Linked DNA regions of Homo sapiens: region 1 is linked to region 2. Evidence: promoter capture Hi-C in human tissues and cell types (Jung and others, 2019). All regions are on one chromosome and are shown on one strand. The core of a region is centred on a gene start or on the middle of the fragment in contact, and the rest is flanking DNA. Distances in the headings are between cores, read along the strand shown.

Region 1 (2,700 bases), core at 201-2,700, 300 kb before region 2:
GGGGAGGTGGGTGAGAGTTGGGTATACTGGCCCCGCCTGCAGGCATGGTGGGAGCCTGGAGAGGGCCAGAGTTCTGGGTTCTAGTTGCAGCTCTGCAGCTTAAAGCAGAGTGACTTTGAGTGAATCTCTACGCTCACAGAACTGTATGGCACACACTGGGCTCTCCATGCATGCCTGAGTGGGCCCATAACCAGTGCTCTCCCCCAGCTCAGCTGGATGAATGGAGCTGCCAGGCCTAGCCTGGGATCTGTGGACACAGGAGAGAGAACTGCTGGGAACGGATCCCCGGCTAGTCCTGTTTCTACAGGGTAGGGGGGGACTCTGAGGCCCAGGTGGGGTCAGGGGTCATACCTGGCTGTAGTGGCAGGATGGGGCTCCCTCCCACCAGCCTGCAGGTGGGGTGCCTGTGATTAGGAGAGGGCGGTAGAGGAGTGGCAGAGCTAGGTGTGGGGCTGTGGTGTTCTTCAGCTGGGAGTGTGGGGGGCGCAGGGCCCTGCTTAGGGGTGCGGGATGGTGCCAGTGTGTAGAGGTGAGTGTGAGGAGCAGGTGGCTGGAGGGGCAGGATGGGGAGGCTGAGGGGCAGGGCTGGCCCTCGGGGAAGGGCCGGTGGGGTCCTTCGCGCATGTTTCTTTGTGGCTAGTGGTGTGTCATCCCCTTTTACAGATGAGAAAACTGAGGACCAAGGGGCTATAGGACCAGCCTGTGCTGTACAGTTGGTAAGGGCAGAGCAGGGACTCAGTGCCGCCTGTCTAGCTCCATGGCCAGTGCTGTTTGTATGGTGCACACACTTCTGGAGATCCCGGGGGCTCAAGGCAGCCTCTGGAACTGGAATTAGATCCAAGAGGGGAAAGAGAGTTATAGGATTTTTAGAACAGAAGGGACTCTGCAGTCACCCAGTCCAGCCTGGTCACTGAGGGGAAACAGGCCCAGAGGTGGGAGGTGGGGAGCCTCAGGCCACACAGCAAGCAGAGTGAAGACAGGAACTCTGCCCCTGCCCAGAGTGGGACATGTGGGATCCCCACAACTGCTCCCCAAGACAGCCCAGGATGGCATCACTGAGCTCTCTTTCAGCCAAGGCTGTCACTGTGGGGCAGGGAGTTCTTCTGAAGGGCTGACTCACTGCCTGGGGACGCAGTTGCCACAAAGCCACCTGTGCCAAGGCCCGACTGGCCCCGAGGGCTCCAGGAAAGGGAGCCTGATTCCCCACCGCCTAGCCTGAGTCACCACCGAACTCGCATTTCTGTGTTTTTCTCTCGGCCCCACACCCCCAAAGCTGGGTGGGAACTCTGAGCCGGCACACAGCAGAGTTGATCCTGGGCTGAATAATCCAGAGTGAGGAGTTGGACGGGACCGGGAGTGATGAAATCCAGAGGGGAACCTGGAGTCAGCAGTTAGGAGGGCCCCGCCTTCCCCAGCTGCATATAAAGGTCTCTGGGGTTGGAGGCAGCCACAGCACGCTCTCAGCCTTCCTGAGCACCTTTCCTTCTTTCAGCCAACTGCTCACTCGCTCACCTCCCTCCTTGGCACCATGACCACCTGCAGCCGCCAGTTCACCTCCTCCAGCTCCATGAAGGGCTCCTGCGGCATCGGAGGCGGCATCGGGGGCGGCTCCAGCCGCATCTCCTCCGTCCTGGCCGGAGGGTCCTGCCGTGCCCCCAGCACCTACGGGGGCGGCCTGTCTGTCTCCTCTCGCTTCTCCTCTGGGGGAGCCTGCGGGCTGGGGGGCGGCTATGGCGGTGGCTTCAGCAGCAGCAGCAGCTTTGGTAGTGGCTTCGGGGGAGGATATGGTGGTGGCCTTGGTGCTGGCTTCGGTGGTGGCTTGGGTGCTGGCTTTGGTGGTGGTTTTGCTGGTGGTGATGGGCTTCTGGTGGGCAGTGAGAAGGTGACCATGCAGAACCTCAATGACCGCCTGGCCTCCTACCTGGACAAGGTGCGTGCTCTGGAGGAGGCCAACGCCGACCTGGAAGTGAAGATCCGTGACTGGTACCAGAGGCAGCGGCCCAGTGAGATCAAAGACTACAGTCCCTACTTCAAGACCATCGAGGACCTGAGGAACAAGGTGGGTGACTTTGGTGTATGGAGCACTGAGAGAGGCTGGGGCTACAGTGGCCCTTGGGATACCTCTTTTTAGCAATTACACTTTACAAACAGGGAGACTGGGCACCTTTGGGGAGTGGCCAGGATCACCCAGGGAAGTGGTAGCAGAGGGTCCCTTTTCAGTATCTCTGTGCCCGGACTGGGGCTGTTACCCTAAATCTCTTATTTCCTTCAAGGGTTCAGCTGCAAGTTCAGCTTCCCTGCCTTGGGCCCAGGAAGGGGGTGATCGGGATGGAGTGCATCCCTACGTAGCCTGAGCTGGTGGAGAAGGCATGCCAGCCCTGCCAGCCAGAAGACTTCCAGATTTGGGGCGGTTCCTTTTGCCCCTTTCTGCCTTTCATGCTCAAGTAGTAAGGTCCTTGGCTGACCAGGGCTCCTGTCCTCCATCCCCACTCCAGATCATTGCGGCCACCATTGAGAATGCGCAGCCCATTTTGCAGATTGACAATGCCAGGCTGGCAGCCGATGACTTCAGGACCAAGTGAGCAGCCAGCATGGTGGGCTGGGGGCAGAGGGCAAGGGACAAAGAGTGGGGCGGTCCACCCAGCAGGGCCAGCAGACCCCGAGCCTCAGAATCCTCAGGGCTGCAGCCTGAGGACCTGA
Region 2 (2,700 bases), core at 54-2,553:
CCCGACTCCCACCCTGTCCTTAGTTCTTCTAGCCCTTCTTAGAGGCTGTCTTACTTCTAGCCCATCTTACAAAGAAAGGGAAATGAAAAGGGAAGGACTAGATCCCTTGATCCAGATCCTTACTCCCATCCCTCCTTCCATTCCCACCCCACCCCTATCTTCTGTCCTCTACCCCTACTAGATGTTGTATTCCAGCTCCAGGGCTGCCATGGGCACTCCAAGAGGAGAACAAGGTACCAAAGTCCAAGAAAGAGACAGAAATTTTGACCCATCTCAAAATTTACACATGGACCTGAACCATCTGTAGATTTTAGACTCCTTGCAAAGGCATTTTATTCCTTGGGATGACACTCTGGGTATTTTGTATTCTAATTTCTCCTTCTGCCAGATGGTCTATAAGGTTCGAACTCTTAAAAAAAGTGCGTTACATTCCCATTTTAATGTAGCATTTTGGATATTTACTGATCTCCTTCCTGCTTTCTTCTTTCTTTTCTTCTTTCCTTTCTTCCTCCCCTTCTCCTCTTCTTCCTCCTCCTGCATCTCTTCCTTCCCCGGTCAAGGAAAGGCCTGGGGCTGGAGTGGGGGTGGGTAGAGGGTTCTGATCTCAGTTCTTCCCACCTATTTAGAGAGAAGTGCGAATATTCAGCTCACCTTGCCGCCGAGACAGACCATGCCTTACCAGCTTCTTGCAGCTTTACGATGAGTCTCTCTCGGTTTCACAGGGCAGTTATTACTCATGACTGATGCTCACCGGCCAAGCCTAAACGTGTGGCACACTCCCCATACCACACACAGACACAAACATTTGCCTGGCTCACATGAACCGGGATGAGGATGCCATTTCCACCTGGGAGGAGCCACGTGACCAGGCGTTCTCAGTAGCCTCCACTGGTGTCAGGGGGAACAGAGCATTCGGCTGTTGCCGGTCTGCCTTTCCAGGACTAGCATCCATGGAAGATGGGGTCCATCGCCAACCTGCGAAGATGTGGAAGGCAAGCCCCTCATTCCAGAGCCAGAAGCTGTGGCCGGCTTCCCCTTCCCATCTCCAACCTGGGCTAATGACAGCTGGCAGATGCTTGGCCATGATGACAGGTCTTTTCGAAGATGTATTTTTACCCTCTGGATAAACAGCAGTTGGCAGGAGTGGGGCGTTTTTATGAGTTGAGGTACTCAGGACTGGAAAATAAACAGCCAGTTAATGAGCCGGTCTTATGGAAACTTGCATAAATAATAACAAAGAAAACATCCCGTCCCTCATGCCTGGGTGAGGGGATATAAAAGCTGCCATCCAGATGGCTGGCCACCGTCAGTCGTGGGGAACTCCGGCTGCGTTACCGACCTGCGAGCTGACGGGCCCGGACCATGGGGTGCTGCCCGGGGGACTGCTTCACCTGCTGCACCCAGGAGCAAAACTGCTGTGAAGAGTGCTGCTGTCAGCCGGGCTGCTGTGGCTGCTGCGGCTCCTGCTGTGGCTGTGGGGGCTCTGGCTGCGGGGGCTCTGGCTGCGGGGGCAGCTGCTGCGGATCGTCTTGCTGTGGATCTGGCTGCGGAGGCTGTGGAGGCTGCGGAGGCTGCGGGGGTGGCTGCTGTGGATCCAGTTGCTGTGGGTCCAGTTGCTGCGGCTCCGGGTGCTGTGGGCCTGTGTGCTGCCAGCCCACACCTATATGCGACACAAAATGAAGACCTTTCCCTCCACCACTGATGCAGTCCCACCGAAAGCCTCCATCTGCTCCAGGGGGACAGCCCCTCGTGTCCAGAACCTTCCATACCCCCAAGACAGTGTCTTGTCTTTCTGTGATTTGTAGAGGAGGGCTTGTTCTCCAACACCTTCTCTGGTATTTCAAGGCACCGAGAACAAGAGCCATACTCTGATGAAACATTAAAACTCGGTCACAACTAAGTGATCCCAAGCTCAAGGGTGAATCCCCAATACTTTACTTATTCACATGAAGTTCAATGTCTTGTACTATAAGACATCCTCTTCTTCAAGGTGTCTTTGGGACTGATCCTCCGCCCTGGCTTTCTGCAGCTTTGAGATGCAAAAAAGGTCCATCTTCTTTGTGAGCCTCTTAATAAATTTGAGCATGCTGGCATAACCTAATTAGTTCTCTTGCCTCTTCCTTGACCTCCCTGCTGAGGACTGGGTTAGAAAAATTCACTCTGGCATCTGCCTTAGGGTTTTTGAATTGTGGTTTTTGGATCACCTGCGTCGGAATCACCTGGGAGCTTGTTAAAACTGGAGACTCTGAGGCCCTCCCTAAGACATACAGAATCAGAATCCACCAAAGTGTGGCCTGGGAATCTGTGTTTTTAACAAGAACCTTAGATAATTCTTATGCACTGAAGTTTGAGAACCATAGATCTAGACGGAAGCTTCCGTGTGCTGCATGAGATTCACTTGAAAAGCTTTTAAAAATATAGATCATTGGGTTTTATCACTGGAGATTTTACCCGTTAGCTCTAGGGCCTAGAGTCCCTAGGGACCTGCATTTTTAAAAGCTCCTGGGTGAATGCTGATGCTGGCCACATTTAATGGTGATTGAGGGGCATGGCTTTCTTCTGCACTACAGCTCTCCTAGGATGGTTCTGCAGGAGGGCTTCAGGCTTGATCAGAACTTTCTGGCAAAGTCGGAAAGGAGGCTTTGGTAAAACAAGATTGGTTCTGAATGGAAAGGATTTCTAATGGCAAAGCTAGTGAAT

The links. The method cuts DNA at HindIII sites, captures the fragments that hold promoters and counts their contacts. A contact is called where the count stands out against the background at its distance.
Region 1: a contact is called between the fragment with the promoter of KRT16 here and the fragment with the promoter of KRTAP17-1 in region 2, in 2 of the 25 tissues and cell types used here (mesenchymal stem cells and mesendoderm cells).

What each region holds. Positions count from the first base shown.
Region 1 is chr17:41,611,517-41,614,216 of GRCh38, reverse strand. KRT16 (keratin 16) reads left to right here and starts at 1,450. Exons shown (of 8, transcript NM_005557.4): 1 at 1,450-2,059; 2 at 2,496-2,578. The coding sequence starts at 1,529. RefSeq lists an enhancer at 1-419. The HindIII fragment of the contact is 12,932 bases long and covers 1-2,700 here.
Region 2 is chr17:41,314,313-41,317,012 of GRCh38, reverse strand. It overlaps KRTAP17-1 (keratin associated protein 17-1), which reads left to right and starts at 1,303. Exons shown (of 1, transcript NM_031964.2): 1 at 1,303-2,101. The coding sequence starts at 1,363. The coding sequence ends at 1,680. The HindIII fragment of the contact is 6,672 bases long and covers 1-2,700 here.